2 separate regions of the Homo sapiens genome follow, and region 1 is linked to region 2. The links are contacts of gene promoters, found by promoter capture Hi-C in human tissues and cell types (Jung and others, 2019). All regions are on one chromosome and are shown on one strand. The core of a region is centred on a gene start or on the middle of the fragment in contact, and the rest is flanking DNA. Distances in the headings are between cores, read along the strand shown. Region 1 overlaps HRG-AS1 (HRG and FETUB antisense RNA 1). Region 2 holds the start of KNG1 (kininogen 1).

Evidence for each region. The method cuts DNA at HindIII sites, captures the fragments that hold promoters and counts their contacts. A contact is called where the count stands out against the background at its distance.
Region 1: a contact is called between a fragment that was not itself captured here and the fragment with the promoter of KNG1 in region 2, in 1 of the 25 tissues and cell types used here (neural progenitor cells).

Annotation. Positions count from the first base shown.
Region 1 is chr3:186,654,231-186,661,207 of GRCh38, reverse strand. All of the region lies in intron 1 of HRG-AS1 (HRG and FETUB antisense RNA 1), which reads left to right. Among named protein-coding and RNA genes, the nearest start is that of HRG-AS1, 7.9 kb to the left of the region's middle. RefSeq lists an enhancer at 3,062-3,581. The HindIII fragment of the contact is 4,825 bases long and covers 1,829-6,653 here.
Region 2 is chr3:186,712,073-186,719,331 of GRCh38, reverse strand. KNG1 (kininogen 1) reads right to left here and starts at 1,973. Exons shown (of 10, transcript NM_001102416.3): 1 at 1,595-1,973. The coding sequence starts at 1,789. The HindIII fragment of the contact is 15,967 bases long and covers 1-7,259 here.

The DNA.
Region 1 (6,977 bases), core at 2,992-5,491, 60 kb after region 2:
GTTTAGCACCATGGGGTGGCTAGGCAAAACAATTTGGTTGATAAGGCGCAGATTCTGAACTAACCTGTAAGCCTTGTCTGGTTTTAGGACAGGTAAAATGGGGGAATGGTAAGAAGAGTTTATAGGCTTTAAAAGGCCTTGCTGTAACAGGCGAGTGATAACAGGCTTTAATCTTTTCAAAGCATGCTGCGGGATGGGATATTGGCATTGATTGGGGTAAGGGTGATTAGGTTTTAATGGGATGGTAAGGGGTGCATGATCGGTCGCTAAGGAGGGAGTAGAGGTGTCTTATACTTATGGGTTACGGTGGGGAGATACAAGGGGAGGATGTGAAGGAGGCTTTGAACTGGGGGAAAAGGCGGCAATGAGGTGTGGCTGTAGCCCAGGAATAGTCAGGGAAGCAGATAATTTAGTTAAAGTGTCTCGGCCTAATAAGGGAACTGGGCAGGTGGGGGTAACTAAAAGGAGTGATTAAAAGAGTACTGTCTAAGTTGGCACCAGAGTTGGGGAGTTTTAAGAGGTTTAGAAGCCTGGCTGCCAATACCTACAACAGTTATGAAGGCAAAGGAAACAGGCCTTTGGAAAGAAGGTAATGTGGAGTGGGTAGCCTCCGTATTGATTAAGACGGGGACGGACTTACTTTCTACTCTGAGAGTTACTTCAAGCTTGGCGTCCGTGATGGCCTACGGGGCTTCCAAGGCGATCGGGCAGCGTCAGTCTTCAGCTGCTAAGCTGAGAAAATGTGAGAAGGAGTCAGTCAGAGAGCCTTGGGCCGGAGTTCCAGGGGCTCTGGGAGTGGCTGCCAGGTGAGTTGAAGAGTCTGATTTTCAGTGGAGTCCTACACAGATGGGATACGGCTGAGGAGGAATCCTGGGCTGTGGGCATTCCTTGGCCTAGTGGCTAGATTTCTGGCACTTGAAGCAAGATCCTGATGCAGGAAGTCCTGTAGGAATGCTTGACTGCTGCGGCTTAGGCGTGTGCGGCTGAGGCATTTTGAAGTTCTCCTATGCTGGAGGTGTGGCTGGGTCTCGTCTCACAGCAGAGGCAAGTAATTGTAACTCAGAAACGCGTTGCCGTCTGGATGCTTCTTCTCTATTATTGTACACCTTGAAGGCAAGATTGATTAATTCCTGTTGTGGGGTTTGAGGGCTAGATTCTAATTTTTGAAGTTTTTTCTTAATGTCAGGAGTGGATTGGATGATAAAATGCATGTTAAGAATAAGGCGGCCTTCTGGCCCTTCTGGGTCTAGGGCGGTATAGCGTCCAAAGGTTGCTGCTAAGCCGGCCATGAACTGGGCTGGGTTTTCGTCTCTACCTTGGGTAGTCTCTTCAAGCTTGTCATAATTAACAGCTTTGTAAGCTGCCTTTTTAAGCCTTTCAAGTAGGCAGGAATCATGTAATCTCACCTAGCTATACCTGGGGAATTTGTCTGATAGTTCCATTGGGGATCTTCTCGGGGAACTGCTCTAATGCCTTCCTGGAGGTCTGGCTCGTGAAGCCGGCGGTTATCAGCGTGAGATTGGGCTAGAGAAAAAACTCTTTCCCGTTCATCTGGGGAGAGGGTAGAAGTTAGGATGACATTTCAGTCACTCCAGGTTAACTTGTAGGACAGAGTTAGATATCAGAATTCCTGTATACATTTAGTGGGGTCTGATGAGAAAGAGCCTAAACACTGACTGATCTGAGAGAGGCGTGATAGAGAAAAAGGTACATGTACCCTGACTATGCCTTCAGCTCTAGCCACCTCTCTAAGAGGAAACTGTTGGGCAGGTGGGGAAGAACTAGTCACAGAACTAAACTGTATGCCGGAACGGCTGTGAGGAGGGGAGATGGTAGAAGGATTATAGGGTGGAGGAGCAGAGGCTGAGGAAGAATTGGGACTTAGCTCGGCCTGGTGACAAGCAGCCTGGGGAGGAGGGGAAAGGTCAGATGGGTCTGTAGAAAAGGAAGACTGGAAAGACTCAGCAACGCTTGGGGTTGGGACTGAGGGGACAGGCGGGAGGGAAAGAAGGAAGATTTGGGACGAGTTGCATTGGGAACAGAGACCAGGGAGGGACCGATATGTAAAAGAATGCCTGGACATCAGGCACCTCAGACCGTTTGCCTATTTTACGACAAGAATTATTTAGATCTTATAGGATGGAAAAATTGAAAGTGTTGTTTTCTGGCTATTTGGAAGTACTGTCGAGTTTGTATTGGGGTCAAGCGGCATTGCAGAAGAAAATAAGACGCTTAGATTTTAGGTCAGGTGAGAGTTGAAGAGGTTTTAAGCTCTTGAGAACACAGGCTAAGGAAGAAGAAGGAGGAATGGAAGGTGGAAGCTTGCCCATAGTGAAGGAGGCAAGCCCAGAGAAAAGAGAGTAGAGACATGGAGAAGGGTTGGGGGGTTCTTGCCCTCCAGAAAAGCAGAGAAGGGGTCAGGGCACGGAAATAAGGGGTTGAGGCGCAGAGATAAGAGGTCGGGGCACGGAAATAAGGGATCGGGGCACAGAAATAAGAGGTTGGGGCATGGAAATAAGGGATCGGGGTGCAGAGATAAGAGGTCGGGGTTCCTGCCCCTCCCCTAGAAAAGCGGGACTTGCCGCTAAGGGTGAAAGACCAAGGCAGGTGTCCTTGCGTGGTCTGACACCTCTGAAACCTGAGTGAATAATCAGAGAGGCATCCCCACAATGATTAAACACCAAGGGAAGGCTGCCTTTCTTAGTCCACGACCGGCATTGGAGTTTTGGGTCCATGGATAAAACATGTCTCCTTTGTCTCTACCAGAAAATGAAAGGAATTGAAATTAAGAGAAGGGAGAGATTGAAGTGTGGCACCAAGATTGAACAGAGAAAGAGGTTGAGGGATAGTGAGGGAGGTTGGAGAAGAGTGTAAAAAGAGGCTGTTCACGGGATTTGAAATTGGTGAGATGTTTCTTGGGCTGGTCAGCCTGAGGACCTGAGATCGTAGGTGGATCTTTCTCACGGAGCAAAGAACAGGAGGACTAGGGATTGATCTCCCAAGGGAGTTCCCCTGATCCGAGTCACGGCAGCAAATTTCATGTGTGTCCGTGTGAAGAGACCACCAAACAGGCTTTGTCTGAGCAATAAATCTTTTAATCACCTGGGTGCAGGTGGGCTGAGTCCAAAAAGAGTCAGTGAAGGGAGATGGGGTGGGGCCATTTTATAGGATTTAGGTACGTAAAGGAAAAAGAGGGGTTGTTCTCTGGCAGGCAGGAGTAGGGGTCACAAGGTGCTCAGTAGGGGAGCTTTTGAGCCAAGATGAGCCAGGAGAAGGAATTTCACAAGATAATGCTATCAGTTAAGGCAGGAACAGGCCATTTTCATTTCTTTTGTAGTGGAATGTCATCAGTTAAGCCAGGAACCGGCCATCTGGATGTGTATGTGCAGGTCTCAGGGGATATGATGGCTTAGCTTAGGCTCAGAGGCCTGACACTATCTGGGCAGACTGGGCAGGTAGAATCTTCATCTTTACCTTTTCTTTTCTTTCTTTTTTTTTTTTTGAGACAAAGTCTCACCTGCTCTGTTGCCTAGGTTGTTGTATAGTGGTGCCATCTCAGCTCACTGCTGTAACCTCCACCTCCCAGTTTCAAGCAATTCTTCTGTCTCATCCTCCTGAGTACTGGGACTACAGGTGCCCACCACCACGCCTGGCTAAAATTTGTACTTTTAGTAGAGACAAGGTTTCACCATATTGGTCAGGCTGATCTCGAACCCCTGACCTCAGGTGATCCACCCGCCTCAGCCTCCCATAGTGGTGTGATTATAGGAATGAGCCACTGCGCCCTGCCGTCTTCACATTTTCATTCTGCATTTAGGTTATTTCTGTGTGTCCTGACCATTGTATCAGAAAAAAGAGTTAGCTAACAGAATTTTTATTCTTTAAACCTTTTTGACTCATAATAGAACACATGCTTTTTGCAAAAAATATGGAAAATACGAAAAGCATAAAGAAAATTCACCTCTAATTCTACAACCATAAGGAAAACCAACTATTTATAATGCATAATTGCTTCATACACTTTTTGCTATTTGAATATATGTAATATATATGTTTTGCATCATTAGAATTATTCTGTACATACAGGTGTTTCTTTCCCTCCACTGTAGTTGAGCATGTATTTACTTATAACCTCTATTTTTTTCAGGTATTAATAGAAACCATATAAGCTTTATAAATGTTTTTGTGTTTTTATAGGATTTTAAAATTTTGTTATTTTAAGTATACAGTTTTTAGTCATAAACACAATCCCTGCACAAAGTAAAAAAGCAAACAATATTTTAGAATATTGTAAAATAAAAATTAAGTCTCTTTCCTCCATTCTTTACCTCCCAAACTCTTTCCCAAGAGAAGGACTTTTAAAAATCCCTTGTTATATATGGCTTAAATATTGTATTTTCCCTTAAGGTTATACCATGAGGACTTTCTCAGATCATTAAATATTCTTCAGAAAGATTATTTTTGAGGTTACATAATATTGGATGTTATGTACGTGTTAATGTATTCAACATTCCCCAATTTTTGGCCATGTATATTGTTTCCAATTATTTGTTCTTATAAGTAATGCTACAGTGGACCTCTTTGTAAATCTCTGACTATGTCTTTGAGAATCACTAGACTGGTTGACAGAATTTTATGACATTTAATTTTTTTGTAATAGGAGTCACTTTTTAAAGAAAATGCAGTTTTTATCAGGCTTAATGTATCCATTTTGTTAATTTACTTTAAAAATGGGCTTTAATTTTTAGAGCAGTTTTAGGTTGACAGTACAGCTGAGTGGCGAGTATAGAGTTCCTATGTAGTCCCTACATCTGCCCCTCACGCTCACAGCCTCCCCTGCTATAAACCTCTGAACACTAGCAGCACATTTGTTACAACCGATGAACTTACACTGACACATAGTTATAACCTAAAGTCCATGGCTTACATCAGCATGCATCCTTGATGTTGTACATCTATGGGTTTTGACAAATGTATAATGAAATGTATCCACCATTGTAGTAGCATACAGAATAGTTTCACTGACTAAAAATCCTCTGTGCTCCACATAGTCCATCCCTGTCTCCTTGCTAACCACTGGCAACCAGTGATCTTTTTACTGTCTTCATAATTTTGCCTTTTCCAAATGTCATATAGTTGGAACCATACAGTAGTTAATCTTTTCAGATTGGTTTCTTTCACTCAGTAATATGTATTTAAGTTTCCTCCATGTCTTTTTGTGGCTCGATATTCATATTCCTTTTTCGTGCCAAATAATATTCCATTGTCAGGATTTACTTATCCACTCACCTGGTGAAGGACAGTTTGTTGCTTCCAAATTTTAGCAATTATGAGCAGATGTGCTGTGAATATTCATGTGTGGGTTTTTCTATGGACATAAGTTTTCAGATCATTTGGGTAAATACCAAGGAGTGTGACTACTGGAGCATATGATAAGAGTATGTTAAGTTTTGAAAGTAACTGCCAAACTGTCTTCCAAAGTGGCTGTACCATTTGCATTCCCAGCAGCAATGAATGAGAAGTTCCTTTTGCTCCATATCCTTGCTACCATTTAGTATTGTCAGTGTTCTGGATTTTGGCCATTCTGACGGATATGTAGTGATATCTCGTTGTTATAATTTGCATTTCTTTGATGACATATGAAGTTCACTGAAGTTCAGAATTTCAGATGTTCACTTACCTTTTTTTTTTTTTTGGTGAGGTTTAAATCTTTTGCCCATTTTTATTTTTATTTTTTTTAACTTCTATCTTAAGTTAATGGGTACATGTGCACATTTGTTATATAGGTAAACTCATGTCGCAGGGGTTTGTAGTACAGATTATTTGTCAGGCAAGTACTAAGCCTACTACCAAACAGTCATTTTCTTCTGACCCTCTCCCTCCTCCCACCCTCCACCCTTGAGTAGGTCCCAGTGTGTGTTGTTTCCCTCTATGTGTCCATGTGTTCTCATTATTTAGCTCCCACTTATAAGTGAGAGCATGCGATATTTGGTTTTCTGTTCCTGCATTAGTTTGCTAAGGATAATAACCTTCAGCTCCATCCATGTTCCTGCGAAAGACACGATCTCATTTTTTTTAAATGTTTTGCCCATTTTTAAATTGGGTTGCTCATTTTCCTATTGTTGAATATGTTCTTTTTAAACATTCAGCTGAGGTAACTCTTAATATTGTATAACTAGAAATACTCAGCTCCTGAAATTTTGTCGTAGAAGATTAGTGTTAGCAATTTGCAAACTACTGATGACTTGAACACAACAGCCTCAGATCAGTAATAAATGCAGCATTTTGCAACTATTGACAAGGATGCAGATTAGCTTGTCTGCACTGAGTCTGCAGAGTAAGAAAAAAAGATCAAGGACTGAAAGCCAGAGAAACAGCATCTAAGAGATGAGCCAGAGAAGAGGAGCCCAAGGTGGGATATGAGGGGGAGTGGTCAGAAAGCTAGAAGAAAAACCTGGAGGCTGTGGGACACAATCTCCTTGAAAAAATCTGAAGAGCAAGCAAAGTCAGCATTGCCAGATGCTTGAAAGTGTAAGTAAAAGTGAACAGAAATTTTTTTTTTAATTTAAAATAAAAGATTGTTAGGGAACACCAAGTCAGTGGGTTATGGGAAAAGAGATAGATTCACATTACTGTGACCTAAGGAATGAAGAGGTGGTGGGGAAGTGGCAAGCATGGGAACAATCTAGTTTTTCACGAATTAAGCCATGGAAAGACAAAGGAGGTGGTAGATAGAAGGAGAAACAAAGTCTGAGGCCCTTCCCCATCCTTTTACCAGTAGAGAAGGGCCTTATAGAACACCCCTTGGGAAACCCCAGCTAAGGCTCCTAATGGTTTCTCTCTGTTTGCCTCAGGCCCATCCTTTGATTTTCTCTGCCTGGTCTTGTCTCCCAGGCTGGCTCCAGGGAATTGAATAACCCAGGCTCTCCCTGCTGGCTAGTTTACCATTGAGTTCAAAGAGCCATTGGGAGGAGGAG
Region 2 (7,259 bases), core at 724-3,223:
GGGTGATTTTAGTACTTTTATTTGGTTTATTTTGTTTCCTACTTTTTCTTTTTTAAACAGCTTTATTGAGATATAATTTACATGCCATAAAATTTACCCACTAAAGGCATACAATTTAATGTTTTTTAGTATATTTACAACCATACCCACAATCTATTGGGTACCACACCACCAATAAACTGTTGCTTGAGATCACCATGAAGCAGAATTTCTCACATGACTGTACTAGATTATGAAAGAAAATGGCTCGATTTTACTTTCAGAAAAAATAACATGTCCACTGTGTTTATTTTCCTTTATCCCCATGTTGTCACATGGCTAGTTTTTTTTTTTCTGCTAAAGTAACCAATTGCTTGACATTCCCAGAGATATAGTCTTTTATAGTGAAATTTGTTTAAACATACTCTTGAAAGATTGGTATTTCTTTGAACCATGCATCCTGCCAGGATTTGTCTCCTGCTGGAGTGCATCATTGCAATAATATCAAAAACTAACTAAAACGTTGCTGTTAAACCCAGTACATTCAGCCATACAGACTTCTGTCTAATTCCGTAGAATCACATTAACCTCATTCCTCACTCCTCTTAGACATGCCCCATGAAGTACCCCCTCCCATTAAAGGTTTGGAGTTCTATAGTTTTTAGCCTAGGGCCAGAGACCCAGTGAATTCTTTTGCTGCAGTCTAACTAAATTCCTAAATTCTCCCTCTCTACTTGGTCCTGTTGAGATTTCTCCATCTACTTTTGTTTCATTTCACCCTAGATTCTACTTCTCTGATCATCCAGGAAGCCAACCTGCCTGAGGACGAGTCATACTCTGTCCTCCCACCCCAGGCCAGAGAGTGGTATCTGTCTTTCCACAAGTTGTAAGCTTCTACCTTTGATGATCACATATTTGGTAGTGCGTGATGGTGGTGGGTGGTGGGTGGCGGTGGTGGTGGGTGGTGAGGGGTGGTAGTGGTGGTGGGTGGTGGTGGGTGGTGGTGGTGGTGGGTGGTGGGTGGTGGTGGGTGGTGGTGGTGGTGGGTGGTGGGTGGTAGGTGGTGGGTGATGGTGGTGGGTGGTGGGTGGTGGGTGGTGGTGGGTGGTGGGTGATGGTGGTGGGTGGTGGGTGGTGGTGGTTGGGTGGTGGTGGTGGATGGTGGTGGTGGTGGGTGATGGTGGTGGGTGGTGGGTGGCGGTGGTGGTGGGTGGTGAGGGGTGGTAGTGGTGGTGGGTGGTGGTTGGTGGTGGTGGATGGTGGTGGTTGGTGGTGGTGGGTGGTGGGTGGTGGGTGATGGTGGTGGGTGATGGTGGCGAGTGGTGGTGGGTGGTGGGTGATGGTGGTGGGTGGTGGTGGGTGATGATGGTGGGTGGTGGTGGGTGGTGGGTGGTGGGTGATGGTGGTGGGTGGTGGTGGGTGGTGGGTGGTGGTGGATGGTGGTGGTGGTGGTGGGTGGTGGTGGTGGTTGTGGTGGTGGTGGTGGGTGATGGTGGTGGGTGGTGGGTGGTGGTGGTGGGTGCTGGTGGTGGTATGTGTGTGTGTGTGTGAGGCCTGGACTCCTAGTGATAGTACAAATCCCAAGTGACTTCAAGGTTAAACACAATTCACTCACCGTCTTAGTGGCTTCAGTTATGCGGTACAATACAAACTGGTTGTTACTTTGGTTTTGACTGTTATATTTCTTCAGAGCAGCATCCACAGCTTTAAATAAATCCTTGTCATTGCAGTCAATTTCCTCGGACTGTGATTCCTGGGTTAAACTTAGTAGCAGCCTGGAGCAGAGGAAAAGGATGGTAATTAGTTTCATGATCTAACAATCTCCCTCTAGGAGCTGAGGGATGGTTTCACCAAGAATCAAGAGCCAACTGGGATACTGAATTTGACAATCTCCAGCCTCTTGTTTCTTCTGTCCTCCTCTCTGCCTCAGAACTCAGGGCACTGGTTGGATTCCTGCTGCCAGACGCTAGTTGCCTTGTTCCCAAAGGTTAAATGGCTCTGCTGGGTTATCCAAACATATTTACAGCTAGAACATTGCAACACTGGGGTTGTTAACCTGCTCATTTGCATTTGAAAATCACGTGGCAGCACAGTGCATATTTCCAGGTGATTATACAACTTTATGTAGCAAATCAGAGCAGAATCTGATGAAGGAGGGGAAACAAGTGCCTACTAACTCGGTTATTCCCCTGTGACTTTTGCAAAGCCATTTTTGAAGGTCACTACATGGGTAAACAATGCAAGAATGAGTACAATGTGCAGACACATTTCATACAAAGTTTCTTTGCAGGATACCTACCTGCATAGAAGCAGACTGCTGTTAATTCTATTACATGCCTAAGAAGCTCATGCACAGGGGCATCCAGTGAGTTCCAGGAGTCCCATGCAGGACATTGGCACAACTGAAAATAAAATATGGGCGTCCTATCTGCTCTCTGGACAGGCCAGCCTTTCTCTGCTCAGTTGCATTAGTTCTGTAAAAGAAAATTGCTCCCAGGGTGGAGATAGAGGAAAAGCATAGGAAGGGATGGGTTGAGTGAAGCCCTGGATTCCCTATGCTTGCTTCTTTCTGGTTTGGTGTTGTTGGTTTGGCACAGAAAAAGATAGCCCCAAATATGGCTCTTTGGCATGCCGAGTACTTTGAACTGAAAGACATTAAAAAGGCTGCAAAAGCAAAGTCTCTTTCTTGCTTTCTCCTGCCCGTCTTTCTCCTGCTCCACTTCTCTCAAGGCAGGCCACAGAAGCTAGAATTTCTCTTCCCCAAGGCGGGTCATAGAACCCTTCTCCCTCAAAGCCAGCAATAAAACTTTATTATTCTTATTTTCCTCACATCAACACAGAGTGGGGAAACTATATTACAGAATGGTCCCCACCTGTAGACCAACATTGGAAAACTACAGTTGATAATCTCAGCAGAAGTGTGAGGCTTGATGGTATCAACATCCTTACTCCAGTAAAAATTGGCCAGGCACGGTGGCTCACACCTGTAATCCCAGCACTTTGGGAGGCTGAGATGGGTGGATCACCTGAGGTCGGGAGTTCGAGACCAGCCTGACCAACATGGAGAAACCCCATCTCCACTAAAAATACAAAATTAGCCGGGCGTAGTGGCACATGCCTGTAATCCTAGTTGCTCGGGAAGCTGAGGCAGGAGAATTGCTGGAACCCGGGAGGTGGAGATTGCAGTGAGCTGAGATTGCGCCATTGCAATCCAGCCTGGGCAACAAGAGCAAAACTCTGTCCAAAAAAAAAAAAAAAAAAAAAAAATTCGGCCTATTCACTCTGCTCCTTGTTCAGACTTTATTTTTTTAAAAAGTCTGTAGAGCCATGTTCATGAGGACAAACCTAATTTTTCTTTTTCTTTCTTTTTTCCTTTTTTTTTTTTTGACACAGGACATAGATGTTTGGACTATTTTCAATCTTTTTGTTTCTGATAAAAAATTATGTAAAGAAAATCTTTGTGCTCACCTATAAAATAGAACAAAGATTTCTTGGAGAGATGTAAAACATGGTTTTGCATCTTATTTTATATACACTTATAAATTTCAGGTTAAATTTATTCTTAGATTCTATGCCTAATTTTTTTTTTTTTTTTTTTTTTTGAGACAGAGTCTTGCTCTGTGGCCTAGGCTGCGGTGCAGTGGTGCAATCTCAGCTCATTGCACTTCCCGGGTTAAAGCAATTCTTCTGCCTCAGCCTCCCAAGTAGCTGGGATTACAGGGGACTGCCACTACGCCCAGCTAATTTTTGTATTTTTAGAAGAGACGAGGTTTCACCATGTTGGCCAGGCTGGTCTCGAACTCCTGACCTCTAGTGATCTGCCTGCCTTGGCTTCCCAAAGTGCTAGAATTACAGGTGTGAGCCACCGCACCCAGATGCTATGTCTAATATTAAAAGCTAGCAATGACTGAGCCTCAGCACTGGCGTCCTAACTACAAGGAGCACCTTTAAATTCATTCAAGGTTGATTGAATTGGATATGACTTTACTTTTCTGCCAAATCGTATTCCTCCCTAATTCTTGGAAAAGTTTTCATACTTTTTATGTGATACTAGCAATTGCACTCCCTTCCCCAGGAGTGTTGTATCTCTTCCCCTACTCCTCCCTCACACACACAGACACACACACACCCAGAGCCATAAGAACCAAAGACACTATGTGTGTGCAAATACCACTTAGTCTGGTACTGCTCATAACAAAGCCTACTTAGAAAACCAACCTGAGGGTTGAAGACTTCACAGTTTATGACATCATAGGACAAATCTGCTCTGCAGAATCCAAAGACGTTCAAAGAGGAGAGAAGCGTGTGTGTGTGTGTGTGTGTGTGTGTGTGTGTCTGTGTGTGTGTATGCATATGGGGAACTGAAGATGCCCAGCCAGAGTTGTGAGCTTCCAGTCTTTCAGCAAAGGAAGAAGAGCTTTAGAAAAATCAGAGTAATATGATCAGATCGCCCCACCAGTGGCTCAACAATCTGTCCTCGTGTACACTTTGAAGAAAGCACAGGTGGTGAAGTGTCTCATTTCAAGTTGTTGTGGTTTTCTGCCATGGAGGAAAGTGTTGAAAAAAAAGGGAACTATACAGCATAAAGATGGGTTTTCACAGATCCTGTCAAGGTAAGTGTCTGCTGGCTCTACCCTAAGTACAAGGGCTACAACTGGCTGGCACTCCTGTGCTCTAGAGGCCCCTAAACCCAGCTGTGAAAGGTGAACTAAGACAGGAGGATGGCTGTCTGCTAGACATGAGCAGGCACCAGCACTGGGCTTCCCCATGGGTGGTGGTGAGGAAAACCATACCATTGCTGCCTTGCCCTTAGGCCAACCCTTCTGCCCTGGAGACCTGAGTTGCCTGTGCTTCAACACCATTCTTCATTCTGCCTTTCACAAAATGTACCACCTAAGTGATAAGGTGAATATCATTTCACTGAAAACGTTCAAATGATATGAATATAAGAAGAGTGTGAAAAATCACCCATCCTGCACCCCAGCTTCTTCTCAGAGGTGCCACTGTCATTCATTTTATATGCTTCTCCTTCTAGCCTTCTATTCACTTCATGGCTTGTATACATTGCAGTCTATTTAATTTTGCATTTTCTTTCTTTCTTTCTTTCTTTCTTTCTTTCTTTCTTTCTTTCTTTGTTTCTTTCCTTCTTTTCTTTCTTTCTTTTTCTTTTTCTTTTCTTTCTGTTTTGATGGAATCTCACTCTGTGGCCCAAGCTGGAGTGCAGTGGCATAATCTCGGCTCATTGCAACCTTCACCTCTGGGGCTCAAGCGATTCTTCTGCCTCAGCCTCCCAAGTATTTGGGACTACAGGTGCGTGCCACCACACCTGGTTAATTTTTTGTATTTTTAGTAGAGACGGGGTTTCACCATGTTGCCCTGGATGGTCTCAAACTCCTGACCTCAGGCGATCCACCCACCTCGGCCTCCCAAAGTGCTGGGATTACAGGCATGAGCCACTATGCCCGGCCTAACTTTGCATTTTCTAAATGCATGACAAACATCAACCAACTGGCAGTATCTCTCATGTCTATTCCTCATTCTCATTGCCCTAATTCCCACTGCCTGGGTCTGGCCCTCATTCCCGCATACATAAAATAACTTCCAAGTTCATGTCCCTGTCGCCTGCCTGAGATTCCCCAGGCACCCTGGGGCCTCTCCCACTCACCCACTCTGTATGCTAGCTCTCAGAGGTAGCTCTGTGCTGAAGCACGCTGTGCTATAACCTGGAGCAGAGTCTGGAATGGGAGTAAGGTCACTGAATGGAATTCTAAGTTCCAGCACTCCTGTTCTCTACAACTTGCAGTGCTCCCTCTCTGATACATTAAGAAGGGTACATTGCTTTGTAGCACTCCTGTGGTACTCTGTAGTGCTCCTGGTCTGTCCTCCTGATTTCAGTTGTTTCACCAAAGAGGGAGTAGTTTATTTTGGGAGAGAGAAGGGAGGCTTCATGTCTTTCCATAATGTCTTCAGCCACTCAAATCCACTCCAGGTAAGCAAAGAATCGAAGTGAAAACAGTAGCCTTGTTTTGCCTTAAGATGAGCCCACAGGCTCATCTCCCAAATAATGACAGCTCCAGAGCCCACACAGAACTTCTGGAACCCCCTGCTTATATTCAATTATTCCCCAACACCCTTCTTTCTGATTCCCTACCCACCTAGAAGTAGTGGTGCCAGGAATTCACCAGGAATGCCTTTACCCAGACCCTCTTCCTATGCAAATCCTACCCATGCATCACTACACAGCTGAAGCCTCTTCCCATGCAATCCTAATAGATCCGCCTTCATTACGTAGCCCCAGTACGTTTACCACTCCTGTGTTCGCTTGAATATTGTTGGGACCCAGAATACGATGTTCCAAACTGTGGTGCCTTGATATGCTGAGTCCTTTGAACTGAAGGAAACCAAAAGGGCCTCAGAAGCGAGATCTGTTTGACCTTCTCCCACTCTACTTTCTCCTGCTCTCCTTTCTCCCTTAAGGCACCATAGAAACTAGAATTCTTCTTCCCCCAGGCAGGTCCCAGAAAGTGAAATACCTCTGCCCCCAAACAGCCATAAAACCTAAAATATAGCTCTACCTTCCCCCCTGGGCCTTTCTTTGTAGGAGCTGGCCATAAAGAAATTCCAGGATATACCCTGTCTGATAATAGGTCCTCAGATCCATATTCCAGAGGGATTGGGCCCTATACCCAGAAGCAAGAATTGCCACACAGAGGGGCCATGGAGAACTCAAACTGAAGGCCTCGCTGGGTTTCCCCTGACCGTCTATTACTATGGGATCTTTCCCTATTAATCCAATCACATTTTATACTGTTGTACAGTCTTCGTCGACTTAAGCCTAACAACGAACAGTGTCACTTGTGTGTTTGGGTCTTCATCCTGAAGACTTCCATGCTATAAAAACTTGGATTAAATGAATATGCTATGCTTTCCCTTGTTAACCCTTTTTGTTGTTGTAAGACCCTTATAAGGGTCGCATCTGTAAGGAAAGGCATCACACCTTTTTGCCCCTACGGTGGATATCGTGGTTTGCATTCACAAAACCTAAGCAAACTTTTAAATAAATTTAGACTATTCAGAGAGAGGAGTTTTAAAGGTAGGTTACAGACATGGGTTTGTCCTTAGCAAATGTGTATCTTCAAGGTTTGAAAACATAAAGTTTGAAGTTTTGTTGTGTTAGGATGTCTAACTTGCCAGTTGATTCTCCCTGGAGTCCCTGGAGAAGGGTCAGTGGGAGCAAATGGGGCCCTTGTAGGGGTGGGGCAGGAACATGAGCTCGGCAG